5 separate regions of the Homo sapiens genome follow, and all the other regions are linked to region 1. Evidence: promoter capture Hi-C in 16 types of primary human blood cells and fetal thymus (Javierre and others, 2016). All regions are on one chromosome and are shown on one strand. Each heading gives the region's core, a stretch centred on a gene start or on the middle of the fragment in contact. The rest is flanking DNA. Distances are from core to core; before and after follow the strand shown. Region 1 holds the start of CLCA2 (chloride channel accessory 2). Region 2 has its middle 9.0 kb from the start of LINC01140. Region 3 overlaps HS2ST1 (heparan sulfate 2-O-sulfotransferase 1). Region 4 overlaps HS2ST1 (heparan sulfate 2-O-sulfotransferase 1). Region 5 overlaps HS2ST1 (heparan sulfate 2-O-sulfotransferase 1).

Region 1 (2,700 bases), core at 179-2,678:
AAAAAATTCCCTCAACATCTGTCAACATTGCAGTGCAATATCAAAGCCCAAGTTCAGAAGACTCCAACCTTGCTGGGAAGAAGAGTGACATCACACTGCCCATGAAGATGTTGAAAACAGACAATGTTGGTGAAATCCCTGTTGAGAGCAGGGACAGACCGTTTCCTAAATGCTACACTCCCCTCCCCAGAAATGTTCCGAGACGGGGCCACAGCAGGGAAGAGTCACAGGTTTTGCTTGCTGTGGACCTCTGACGCTGTGAATAAAACTTTTTCTTTAGTTTTACAATAGATGTCACTGTGCGGCATTCTTAAACACAAAGAAGAGGGAGAAACGAGGTTACTAAGATAATTTAGTAACTAAGAGAGAACATGATATATTGAAAAACAGTGGAATTTGGAGTCAGTTGGTTCATTCTAGTACGATGATAATACTCCCAACCTTGAACAAGTTACTTAGATTTTTTTGAACATTAGTTCTGTCACCCATAAAATAGGCATAATAAAATCCATCACTCAAAAAATGTTAGTTTCTTCTCTCATTGGCTAATTTTCATAATCAGAATTTCCAAGACTCATTATTTTCATTTGAAAAGTACAAATTATACCTGCATCAGAGTATTGATATTTAAATGAGTTCATTTGTAAACTTTAAAGCATGAGGTAAATATCAGGTATTATGAATCAGTCATAAAATATTTGCGATGGTTACTATATATTAGATCCTGTTTTTGGTCCTGGAGAAATGGAGGGTTGACTGAAGCAGGGCCTTGCCCTTAGGAGAGAGCTGAAGGAGAAATCTATTCTTCTTCCTGAGGCAGAGAGAAAAGGTAGCAAGGCCAGAGGGAAAGGGCTGCACAGGCACCCAAGTTCCTGGCAGTTGGCCCTCTCTGGGGGATATCTGATATCTGACCTCCAGCCATCAGCTGAGAGCTTGCCCAGACTATCTGACCCAAGGGCTGTAGGGACTGGGCTGCAGAATGGATTTCTAAATCTTCAAAATAAACAGGCAAGGAAATCTTGCAACAAATGAAAAATGACTTGAGGGCAGTAGAAAGTACTTGTGCCAACTGATGGAGGAGGTTATGAAAAATGAGGAGAGGAAAATCACTATAGACTTCTGTGTTTCTACTGCAAGTGGATTGAACAGTCCAGATATACTGATTTCCAGCCCATATTTCCTGCTTTTAAGCTCCTTTGGTCTTATTTCCCTCTTCTTTCTGAAAAGTTATAAAATGAATGAAGGGCAGAATGTTTCTTGCCCAACCATGATTCAGGAGGCAGCTCAGCCACAGAACAGGCAAGTGTAGCATTGCCTGGAGGAAAAGGACTTGTAGAGGCAGGTCCCAGATGGATCCACCCCAGACTTTTCAAAGAAGACACCTCCTTCATCTTGTGTTCTAAAACCTTGCAAGTTCAGGAAGAAACCATCTGCATCCATATTGAAAACCTGACACAATGTATGCAGCAGGCTCAGTGTGAGTGAACTGGAGGCTTCTCTACAACATGACCCAAAGGAGCATTGCAGGTCCTATTTGCAACCTGAAGTTTGTGACTCTCCTGGTTGCCTTAAGTTCAGAACTCCCATTCCTGGGAGCTGGAGTACAGCTTCAAGACAATGGGTATAATGGATTGCTCATTGCAATTAATCCTCAGGTACCTGAGAATCAGAACCTCATCTCAAACATTAAGGTGAGTGGAAATTATGAAATTGATACTAGCATCCCATTTGATCAGACCTGTAGCCTTATTTAGAAGCTAACTACCCTGCCTGGTTTGTATTTGAGTAATACAGAGAACAGCATTTTTAAAAGATAGCGCCACAACGTTATGATTATGGCTAACTAAGCCAGTTTGTTCATCTAATTCTGTGTAGTCTCAGCTCACAGAGTGTTGATCTAGCCCTCTATTTTGTTATTGTTGGTTGCTACTAATTTCAGCTCTTTTGTTTTCCTACATGACTGTTTTTGGGGTAGCAACTTAGAAAAATAACAACCCATTGTGGCAACAAAGATTGAATATTTAACTGATGAATAAGCATGATAATGAGCATGCTTGTTAAAATCATATTGCTAGATTCCATCCTGAGGGTGAGAATTCTCAGGCAGAAAGGGTGAGAGTCTGCACGGTGGGCCAAAAAGCAAAATTATTTCTTTTCACTTGAATGTGCTGTAACATAATTGACTATTTTTACTTTAATATGGCAAGGGAGGATCATAGCTCTATGATGTAAGAGCCTCCATTTAGTATTGCTTTAGTGAAATCAGTAGCATCATAAGGTGTGGTCTTGAATGTGCCCACAGGTGTGACATGAAAAGGATTTGTTCCACAAAAGCTTAAAAGCCTTTCTCAAAATTGGGAAAACTATGAAGGCAAGCACAGACATATAATTAGTGTCCTAAAATCTTCCATATAATCATTTAAAGTTTTTTTAAAAATTTGCTCCTATGTTTTCCCAAAGTCTAGGGCTTTCTCTAAAAGAAATGGGTCTCTTCAAAATATTTCATTGTCTTTTATTACTGTTTAAGCATACCAGAAAACCAAAACATACAGGATTTACAAGTGGTAAAGTAAGTTTTTCTTTTGTCTGGCTGTAGGAAATGATAACTGAAGCTTCATTTTACCTATTTAATGCTACCAAGAGAAGAGTATTTTTCAGAAATATAAAGATTTTAATACCTGCCACATGGAAAGCTAATAA
Region 2 (2,700 bases), core at 111-2,610, 700 kb after region 1:
AAATTTCTGGTAATTTGTTATAGCAGCCATAGAAAACAAATCTGGTAGTAGGGAGGTGGGTGGTAGCAGGGGTTATTGCAGCTTCACTGCATATTTCATGCTGAGGAGGCCCGTGTAAAATCTCTGATTGTTTTTGTAAACATGGATGCAAATTCATATTCAATTGCTACAGGCCCCATGTGTCTAGAACCACATTCTAACCAACAGGCGAGATGCAGGGGAAAACAGAAATATTGTGGGCTGGCCCTTGAATCATCCTGTGTGCCACACAGGAGAAGACGTAGAATTTCCTCTAATGACAATGACTGCTTTCTTCTGGTTAACTTCCCACTTGTAGGTTACCCCACAAAGCCAATGGCACAAGTATGAACAATTCCAAGTTCCTCCCTTCCTCAAAATTACTGTGTCTCTAGGCCCCTCCTCTGGCTTCAGCAGCTCCCTCTCCATGCAGAGCCCTGGTTCTAGCCGACCAACCATCTTGGAGCTCCTCTATGCCTCCCAGCCCTTCCCTTAGTCCCTCCAGAGCAAGAGGATGTGGTAAGCTGGCTGGCCTGCCTGAGCATATCCTAGAAAACGGTTTGTGTTGGAGGAGCAATGGAACACTGCTCTGCCTTTGACAGCCTCCTGACCCCTGAGGGTTCAACACACTTGTCTCCCTCACCTGCCCCTGGTGGGTTGCCCTCTTGCCACTTCCATTGATGACCCCTTTGCACCTTCAACTGAAGTCTGCACCCACTCCCACCTCCTCTCACAGCCTCAGCTCATCCCTGATGACTCAGATCAAGTTTCCTTAGGGTGAAATGAAGTGGGGTGAAGCTTTGTCTGCTTCTTAGAGTTCAGGGAATACCCAAAACAATCTAACAGTCACACCACCTGACCAACTTTGTGACCTTATCCACATGAGGAGAAGGCAAGAATCTCAACAGCTGAAGTGTGCCAGAAACATTATGTTTTGTTTTAGTGAATCCGTTACAAGTCCCCATTTGGCTTGCTGATTGGCAATTTCAGTTACTGCTGGATAGTCTTTCTCTCGCTGGGGGTTGTGTCTCCATTGTAGGTGGCTTATTACTATCACAACAGCCTGTGTGTGTGTGTGTCCATGCATGCACAGAGGGGCCCTCTGACCCAGGTTGTCCATCCACACCAGCCTCCCAGGTCTGTATCACCCCATCCCACCCTTGATCACTGATACCCACAGGTTTGTGGCTGCCCTCTCTCACCCCCCACTGCAAGGTCTGTGCAGATTTGACTCTTTCTTAACTACTCCTGTGCCCCCTTTTGAGGGCCTGTAGGGAATTCTGCTATGCCTCTGCCCCATACCCCACACAACTACTCTAGGGCTGTGGGAATTCTATGGGGCTGTCACAGGCCTCTCGATCTGGGCACACCCGGAATCACTTTCTACTCTGCTGCTCCTGTCCATGCTGGGCACCCAGGAAACAGACAGTGGTGTCTTTGCTCTTCCATCCCACAACCTCTTTTGTTGTTCTCTTATTCCCCTCCATCCTCCAGGGGGCAGCAGTAATGCAGCTCTTTCTCAGGGACCCCACTGAGGAGTCCTCTCTTTCCTTCTGCTCTCCTTTGGAGACTCCATCTCATCTTGGGTGGCAAGTGGGGTGGATACACCAAATCTTTTATATCTTAGTCAGACTTCACTTTTGAATCTCAAAACTCAAACAGTTGGATCTTGGGTGCTTTAGTTCCACTGGGACAACTTTTCTTTGACCTAGAAATGCCACATGTGGGAGGGTCACAACACAACAGTGACACTAGTGAATATATCTCTGCGTTGTCCCCATATGCGGCAAATGGGTGCAAGATGCTGCCTGCCACTCACTGTGCAAAGACTACCCACACCAGGAAAAAGCAGAGCCTGTGCTCCATGAATCTGCAATCACGGGCATCTAAGCTTAGAATATCCCACTCTGTTGCAAGTGAAAACATGTAGGTGTATCTCTTTGGCCCAACTCAAAAGGTAGATGTTTTCTCCCTTTTAATACAGTCACTTGGCAGTTTCAGCTTTCTATGAACATTCTTCTGGAAAAGAACCTCAGCTCGTTGTGTAGTTAAATTTATTCAGCATATAAATCTCTTAAAATCCATGCCCTTAAATGTTTATGGTCATGTGGGATATTATCAGTGTCAGAGATGGGCAGGGTTGAAGGAATTTGGGGTCAGACTACTTTCTTTTAATCTTCTCCAAACATTTTAGGTTTGGCAAAACTTGAATTGCATTTTGCCAAGCCCCTGTGCCTGTAATTTGTAAACCCCTGTGTATTTTCAGTTAAATGTAGTCCATATGTTTCTGATTGATTTACACTTAACTCATCTAAACGTTGTTTTGTTAGTGTTATTTGATGTCCAAAGGGCCTCAGAGCCTGTTTACATCTGTCTAAGCTGCTCGTTTTCCTCCCTGAGACTCAGGAAGATCTGTTTTGCCAAGAGTAAACTAAGTCGAATACTGCACCGCCCCTCCCCGCCTCCACCCCCTAGGATTGGATCAGACTTGGGTAGAATCTGACAAAGAGCTGAGGAAGTTGCACTGGGCTTTGAAGTTGACCAAACACTCTACCCTACATTTCACCAAGAGGAATCAGAGCGCAAAGCCTCCCCCTTGGGGACTGTGACCAATAACACGAATACAGAGACCAGATCCTAGGCCAGGCCAACTTCCCAGCCTGGCCCTTTTCCTTATGGCAC
Region 3 (2,700 bases), core at 121-2,620, 640 kb after region 1:
GTGCATGTGTCTTTATAGTAGAATAATTTATAATCCTTTGGGTATATACCCAGTAATGGGATTGCTGGGTCAAATGGTATTTCTGGTTCTAGATCCTTGAGGAATCGCCACATTGTTTTCCACAATGGTTGAACTAATTTACACTCCCATCAACAGTGTAAAAGTGTTCCTATTTCTCCACGTCCTCTCCAGCATCTCTTGTTTCCTGACTTTTTAATGATTGCCATTCTAACTGGCGTAAGATGGTATCTTGTTGTGGTTTTGATTTGCATTTCTCTAATTACCAGTGATGATGAGCTTTTTTTCATATATTTGTTGGCTGCATAAATGTCTTCTTTTGAGAAGTGTCTGTTCATGTCCTTCACCCACTTTTTGATGGGGTTGTTTTTTTCTTGTAAATTTGTTTAAGTTCTTTGTAGATTCTGGGTATTAGCCCTTTGTCAGATGGGTAGATTGCAAAAATTTTCTCCCATTCTGTAGGTTGCCTGTTCACTCTGATGATAGTTTCTTTGGCTGTGCAGAAGCTCTTTAGTTTAATTAGATCCCATTTGTCAATTTTGGCTTTTGTTGCCATTGCTTTTGGTGTTTTAGTCATGAAGTCTTTGCCCATGCCTATGTCCTGAATGGTGTTGCCTAGGTTTTCTTGTAGGGTTTTTATGGTTTTAAGTCTTAGTTTAAGTCTCTAATCCATCTTGAGTTAATTTTTGTGTAAGGTGTAAGGAAGGGGTCCAGTTTCAGTTCTCTGTATATGGCTAGCCAGTTTTCCCAACACCGCTTATTAAATAGGGAATCCTTTCCCCATTGCTTGTTTTTGTCAGGTTTGTCAAAGATCAGATGGTTCTAGATGTGTGGTGTTATTTCTGAGGCCTCTGTTCTGCTCCATTGGTCTGTATTTATGTTTTGATACCAGTACCATGCTGTTTTGGTAGTGTAGCCTTGTAATATAGTTTGAAGTCGGTAGCGTGATGCCTCCAGCTTTGTTCTTTTTGTTTAGGATTGTCTTGGCTATGCGGGGTCTTTTTTGGTTCCATATGAAATTTAAGGTAGTTTTTTCCAATTCTGTGAAGAAAGTCAGTGGTAGCTTGATGGGGATAGCATTGAATCTATAAATTACCTTGGGCAGTATGGCCATTTTCATGATACTGATTCTTCCTATCCATGAGCATGGAGTGTTTTTCCATTTATTTGTGTCCTCTCTTATTACCTTGAGCAAAGTTTATAGTTCTCCTTGACGAGGTCCTTCACATCCCTTGTAAGCTGGATTCCTAGGTATTTTATTCTCTTTGTAGCAATTGTGAATGGGAGTTCACTCATGATTTGGCTCTCTATTATTGGTGTATAGGAATGCTTGTGATTTTTGCACATTGATTTTGTATCCTGAGACTTTGCTGAAGTTGCTTATCAGCTTAAGGAGATTTTGGGCTGAGACGATGGGGTTTTCTAAATATACAATCATGTCATCTGCAAACAGAGACAATATGACTTCCTCTTTTCCTAATTGAATACCCTTTATTTCTTTCTCCTGCCTGATTGCCCTGGCCAGAACTTCCAATACTATGTTGAATAGGAGTGGTGAGAGAGGGCATCTTTGTCTTGCACCGGTTGTCAAAGGACTTCCCAACACCTTTAAACTTAACTATTAATAGCTTACTGTTGGCCAGAAGCCTGGCCAATCAATAAACAGTTGATTAACACATATTGTATATTGCATGCTGTATTCTTGTAACGCTATATACTATATTCTTACAATAAAGTAAACTAGAGAAAAGAAAATGTTATTTAACATACAAGAAATAGAAAATATGTATTTTTTATTTTTTTATTTAAAATTTTTTTTTAAGAGATGGGGGTCTAGCTGGGTTGCCCAGGCTTGTCTCAAACTCCTCGGCTTAAGCAATCCTCCTCCCTCAACTCCTGAGTAGCAGTAGCTGGGACTACAGGTGCACGCCACCAGGCCAGGCTCTGAGAAAATATGTTAAGTTTTCTATTTGTTAAGGGGAAATAGATTATCACAAACATCTTCATCCTCATCATCTTCACACTGAGCAGGCTGAGGAGGAAGAGGTGGGCCTAGTCTTGCTGTCTCATGGATGCCAGAGGCAGAAGAGATAAAGGAGGTAGGAGGCAGGAGAAGCAGGCACACTCAGTGTAAATTTTATTGAAAAAGAATCCACGTATTGGACTCATGCAGTTCAAATCCATGTTGTTCAAGGGTGAACTGCAATTTATTACTCAAAGATGAAGAAAACATTACGACAAAATGTATCCTAAGTATTTTGAATATACTGCCTACATTCTAAGTGCACTGCAAATGTGGCATAACTAGTTAACTTTCTTCAGTGATTTAAGAAAGCCTCACAAGAGGCTGCACTAACTAGATGTAGAGCATCTTTGCTAAAAAAAAGAATTATAACTATCTAATACTTACTTAGTAAATAAAGAAAATGACCATATTGAAAACACTGATTGATTTTAAGTATTGCCACAGAAGAAAGATAGTAATTTATCATCAATAATAGTTACTGCTGTTCAACTGAGATGTGATTTAATATTACTAACAAAATTGTTCTTAATTTTCCATACATTTTTTATCTTTTTATGTAGTTTTAGGCCTAACATTATATTAATAATTGTCCTATATATTTAAGCAAAGTAAAAACACTTGAAAAATAGAAAATGCATGTAAATACTATTTGAATG
Region 4 (2,700 bases), core at 191-2,690, 660 kb after region 1:
TTAAAATTATGATGTATTACGAGGCTTTTTTAAAAAAAATTCATGATTTCCTCTCTCACCCCCCCTCTCCTTCTCCCTCTCTCCCTCTCTCCTTCTCTCTTGCTCTCTCTCCCTCCCTGTCACTCACTCACTCACTCACTCACTCACTCACTCCTGGACTCAGGTGATCCTCCTGCCTCAGCCTCCCAAAGTGCTGGGATTATAGGCATGAGCCACTGTGCCCGGCCTCTGTCATATTAATAGTTCTCTCAAGAAGGGTTCAGAAAACTATATGCCTACTCACAGTATTCAAGTACTATGTGGCTTTCTGTACAGTCTGTGCCACATTATTAATCAGAAAATTAATTAAACTTAATATTCCAAACATAACAGTCTTATGGATACATTTGAACTTTTTTGGTAGTACACATAGTACCATTGTAGTAAACCTCAAATCCAAATGTTTTCCCTAAGATTCTGCATTAACTTCAAAAACACTAAAAAAATTTTTTTTATTATTTAGCTTAGACATGTTTATTCAGTTTTTAAATTAGCTATTATGATTTCAGAGTAACACACCTTGATATATTGGTCAACTTTAAAAGGCATTTTTTATAAAATTTAAAATAAAAGTGATATCCCACTCTCAGTTTTACTTAATTTTGAAAAGAAAAAGTAGAATGAAGTATTACTGATTCAAACTGATAATCTTAACTTTTTGGGAAATCATGTAATTAAAAAAGAATCACCCAAATATTACATACATAAAGTGATATGTTCCTATTTCTAGTTCCTCTCATAGTACTCAAGATCTTTCAATCAAATTGTAGCTCTAAAGTTAGATGTATGTTTTTCTATAAATAATTCATACTGCAATATTGAAAATATTTTATAGGCAGCTTTAAAATAAACTAATTATTTTTTTCTTTGCATAGGCATTGAACCAATTTCATAAGCTTCGTTCATGTGCATATTTTCCCTCAGGGCTGCATTATCCTTGAATTGAATGTTTGTTACCCTTTCACCTAAATGATTTATTCTTTCCACACACAGCTTGGTTTCTAATAGTCTAGGTTTTCATTATTAAAATTATAAATTGAGTGCTTTTGCTTTTGGCAAAGTCTTATACTTAGAACAAAGCTCTGATATATGCTGAGGTTCTTGTAGTTGAAAAAATAAGGCTTTTTGAAGAGATTAATCTCATTTATTAAATGCTGACATGAATTTTTAAGCGTTTGAATATTTTCATAGTGAGTCTTATGTTATTTGAAGGGAAAAGTATTGTGAAAATTTTTCATAGATTTTTCCAAGATTTTAAATACCTAAACAAAATCAGCCTAGGTGAAATGTATTTTGATGTATCTATGTAATCAAGAACTGTTGTAGATGTAACTAGTATCCTCAAATATCTTTTAGCTTAATAGCCATATGCTCCATAAATGGGGAAGGAAAAGGAAAGAAACATCGCCTTACCAATTTTTTAGATTACAGTCGTTCCTGGGGTATGTCCAGGGTATTGGTTCTCGGACTGCCTGAGTATATAAAAATCGCATACTCAAGTCCCTCCGTTGGCCCTGTGAAACCCACGAATTTGAAAGTCACCCCTTGTACACGGGTTTCACATCTCTCAAGTACTGTATCTGTGTGTGGTTGAAAAAAATCTATGTATGCATGGGCCTGCACAGTTCAGACTCGTGTTGTTCAAGGGTCAATTGTGCTTTACTCTTCAAAACAATATTCTTGACTGGCATAGTACTTTGTGGAGTCCAGTAAAATACTTGCTTTCAGGAGAAAGTGGTGAATTTGGCAAAATACTTATTTAACACATAGTTTTTTTAAACTTACCTTATCAGAGACATTAAAACGAATGTAAGCCCCAAGAAACCTAGGAAATAAGATAGAGAAATAAAAAATGAACGCTCCTTTCTAGTTTAGCCCGACCACGAAGAAATACACATTATATTTGCAAGCTTGTCTACTCAAGCCATGTTTTGATTACATACATTTGTTTTTTACTGAACTTTAGAATAATAACAAAAATATCTTTTTTACATTTTTGCATTCCTATCCCATCTTGCTCCTTTTTGTCTGAATCTTATTCTTTGATTTTTTTAAAGTATATTTCCTAGTTCTTCTTCCTTTCCATTTTTCCCTTTAATGTTAGGTTATGTTTTGTTTTCTTTTTAATTGGTGAATGATACAATTTTAAGATAATGTAGATATAAATTATTATAAATTTGAAAATTTTCCAGTTTAAAATTGTATATAGGTTGGACATTTTCAAAATGTCATAGTATGCAGGAAATATAAAGTTGAGTAAGTTGCAGTTCTTGACCTTAATGAGTTCACTGAAATCTTTTTTTCTGTAATTACCAGTTCATGAAGTTTTATTATAAACAGTAAAAATATTAAATATTCCTCCCCTTTTAAATGTGCACTATTTATTTTTTAATAGCATCTATTAGCCCATTTTGATTTTCTTCAAACTTTAGAAAATTAAAATGTTAGAAGTCTCTTTCAAAAACACTTCTTCAGCAATAAACATTTTCATTTATAATGAATAATAGCTAAAAGAACACTTTTAATGCTGTACTTTCTGTCAGACTCTGCTAAGTTTTTTATGATCTAGCTACCTCAGTGTCACATGTCAGCATCTGTCTTGAGAGGTATTTGAAAATTATTTTTGATATAACAGTTTTATTCAGGCACGTATCAGGTATG
Region 5 (2,700 bases), core at 1-2,500, 680 kb after region 1:
CAAGTATAACCTAATTAATGAATATTTTCTGGTGGGAGTTACTGAAGAACTTGAAGATTTTATCATGTTATTGGAGGCAGCATTGCCCCGGTTTTTCAGGGGTGCTACTGAACTCTATCGCACAGGTATATAAAGGAAGGGTTTCTTTTTAAAGCTTTCTTTGGTTTGGTTTTTTGGTTTGCAACTTGTAAATATGTGATTTGAAGTTTCTTCAGTGAAACACAACAGATAGCTCCAGAAAGGCAGGTATCTTGTCGGTTTCTGCTCACTATTTTCAATTGAGTAACTGTGAATTAGGTGAAAATTAGAAGGCACTGTAGAAATAGTGGAATGATACAAAGTACAGAACCAGCCATAGAAATGTATGGTATTCAATAATGCCAGATATCAAACATTAGGCCTGTGTATAAGTCCTGCCTACTACCATTTTGAAGTAGAGGTGTGATAGGGGAACTGAAGTATGCCTAAGCCATGTTTTAGCAGCCTCAGCCGTATTATCATGTGTCTGAAAGTGATAAGCTAATTGTGTTTTTGTTTTGTTTCGTTTTTTGCTATTGCTTGATAAGATGCAGTCATAGGAACTCTTCTCCTTGAGGATGCATATGCCCTAGCTTCTAACACATAATTTTAGAGAATACAGATTATGAGAAAATAGAATACAGTTTGACAATAGGTATTTTATCAAAAATAAACTAGTCTCAGAGCACCAAGCACTTGAGAATATAGTGTGTGAGGTGACAGCCTACACTTTACTGTGTGCCAATCCTTACATTGACTATTTGACATTTCATTAAGTCTTTACTAGGTTAAGGATTAACATTCTAAAGGACTGAATCATGGCTCTAGTTTGATCAAGGCTCCGTTTTTACCTGAATTATATAAGACAATTATGTTACCTGTTCTTAATGTGTCATATTAACCACCTCTTCAAATAAAGAGGCATTGATCTTTTGTGTGTTCTCCAAGAATTATTTACCTTTCCTTTTTTTCCCCCTTTGTAAGTAGGAAAGAAATCTCATCTTAGGAAAACCACAGAGAAGAAACTCCCCACTAAACAAACCATTGCAAAACTACAGCAATCTGATATTTGGAAAATGGAGAATGAGTTCTATGAATTTGCACTAGAGCAGTTCCAATTCATCAGAGCCCATGCCGTTCGAGAAAAAGATGGAGACCTCTACATCCTCGCACAAAACTTTTTCTATGAAAAGATTTACCCTAAGTCGAACTGAGTATAAGGTGTGACTATTGGATTCTTGAACTAAAATTTGACCCTGTCTTCACCTTTGTTCTCAGCTCCACAGTCTGGATTGCTGACAGTAGGTGTATATGACAATTTGTATTGAGCCAAATTAGGAAACAGACAGTAACGTCAAGGAAGTAGATACTGGCTGGCATTGTCAGTGTTCTAAGTTTCAGGCATTTTTATTTTTCCTGGCTAAACGTTGGTGAAAGTTATAACCTCCTGCCTGGGAGAAAATATACATCACCTAAAATGAACTTATGGCAGGTCTAATCAAAAGGCTAAATACAATTTCAGAAAAGGTTCTGATACTCTTGTTTTTGATAAAGCATTTTTTCAACTAACCATGAATTAAGATGAGTCCATTTGCCTCTTCTGCCTTCACTGAGGGTTTGGGTTATACACCTCTACTGAATTGTGTTAATAACTGTTTGGCAGTGTGTACTTTGTTTTTGTGAGTCATGTCTCATGAAATTTATTGGAATGTTTAATCATATTTGCTAAGAAATGTTTCTGCTGTAGTTGGATTTGCCCATATTTATGTAGGTGGTTTTAATTTTTTAAATGGTGATTAGTGTTAAAAATCAATTTAAATCATGACTAATATGGTAAAAAGATAAAGCATCAAAGCAGTATTTCTCATTCCTGCCTCCTCAATATCTAATACTGGGAAGATACTTCAAAGAATATTGAGATTGTCTGAAGTTTTAGTTAAGATTTTCACACATTAATATCAAAAAAGTAAGTTTAGTATTTGTTTCTCCATGGGTTATTTGTAAAGCTGTAAACTGAGATATCGGTGACTCCGTATTATGACTCCATTAGTGAGCTGTGGTATGGGTAGGATTTTCCTACTTCTTCTGTACTTTTACCTGTAGACTATTTTTACTAAGGTGCTTTATAATGTGTTTTAAAGCATTGCATTTACAAAACAAGGAAAATGCTGTAAATATTGCATATTTTATGTATTTGGACCAAAAGGTTACAAGTAATTAGACAAAAGTGGTTTTGCACCAATTTTATGTCAAGTAAAACCATCAGACCTACTGTTCTTGTATTTCTCATTTAACTTTACTGTTAAGACATCACTGAAATGAACTTCAGTAAGCTTTCAATTTTGATACACAGTTCATTATTCATAACTTGAGGCAGTAATTACAGTGGAATGAGTACTGGACAAGGAGTCAAAAAACTTGATTTCAGGTCCTAGCTCTAGCACTTACAGCTGTGTGATCTTGGGCAAGTCACTTAACCTCTCTTTGCCTCAATTTCCTCATCTTGAAATGAGGATAATAATACCTGCTGTACCTACCTCACAGGGCTGTTGTGAGGATTAAATGAGATGGCATGTGAAAGCACTTTGAAAATTGTAAAGCGCTATGTAAATGTAAGGTATTATAGAAACATCTTTAACATATAGTTTCATACCATTCATTTTTTAACAAAGAAAGGGAAAA

What was found. The method cuts DNA at HindIII sites, captures the fragments that hold promoters and counts their contacts. A CHiCAGO score of 5 or more calls a contact.
Region 2: a contact is called between a fragment that was not itself captured here and the fragment with the promoter of CLCA2 in region 1, in 1 of 17 cell types (non-activated CD4 T cells). The highest score is 5.4, in non-activated CD4 T cells.
Region 3: a contact is called between a fragment that was not itself captured here and the fragment with the promoter of CLCA2 in region 1, in 1 of 17 cell types (neutrophils). The highest score is 5.2, in neutrophils.
Region 4: a fragment that was not itself captured here is called in contact with the fragment with the promoter of CLCA2 in region 1 in 4 of 17 cell types (erythroblasts, fetal thymus, total CD8 T cells and 1 more); the score reaches 6.1 in erythroblasts.
Region 5: a fragment that was not itself captured here is called in contact with the fragment with the promoter of CLCA2 in region 1 in 1 of 17 cell types (neutrophils); the score reaches 10.9 in neutrophils.

Annotation. Positions count from the first base shown.
Region 1 is chr1:86,422,743-86,425,442 of GRCh38, forward strand. It overlaps CLCA2 (chloride channel accessory 2), which reads left to right and starts at 1,429. Exons shown (of 14, transcript NM_006536.7): 1 at 1,429-1,691; 2 at 2,597-2,700. The coding sequence starts at 1,506. The HindIII fragment of the contact is 7,161 bases long and covers 1-2,332 here.
Region 2 is chr1:87,119,459-87,122,158 of GRCh38, forward strand. No RefSeq gene overlaps it. Among named protein-coding and RNA genes, the nearest start is that of LINC01140, 9.0 kb to the right of the region's middle. The HindIII fragment of the contact is 1,093 bases long and covers 815-1,907 here.
Region 3 is chr1:87,067,036-87,069,735 of GRCh38, forward strand. The region is part of intron 1 of HS2ST1 (heparan sulfate 2-O-sulfotransferase 1); the gene reads left to right. Among named protein-coding and RNA genes, the nearest start is that of LINC01140, 61 kb to the right of the region's middle. The HindIII fragment of the contact is 8,519 bases long and covers 1-2,700 here.
Region 4 is chr1:87,084,718-87,087,417 of GRCh38, forward strand. The region is part of intron 3 of HS2ST1 (heparan sulfate 2-O-sulfotransferase 1); the gene reads left to right. Among named protein-coding and RNA genes, the nearest start is that of LINC01140, 44 kb to the right of the region's middle. The HindIII fragment of the contact is 1,014 bases long and covers 934-1,947 here.
Region 5 is chr1:87,103,465-87,106,164 of GRCh38, forward strand. HS2ST1 (heparan sulfate 2-O-sulfotransferase 1) reads left to right here. Exons shown (of 7, transcript NM_012262.4): 6 at 1-125; 7 at 1,006-2,700. The coding sequence ends at 1,232. Among named protein-coding and RNA genes, the nearest start is that of LINC01140, 25 kb to the right of the region's middle. The HindIII fragment of the contact is 2,197 bases long and covers 153-2,349 here.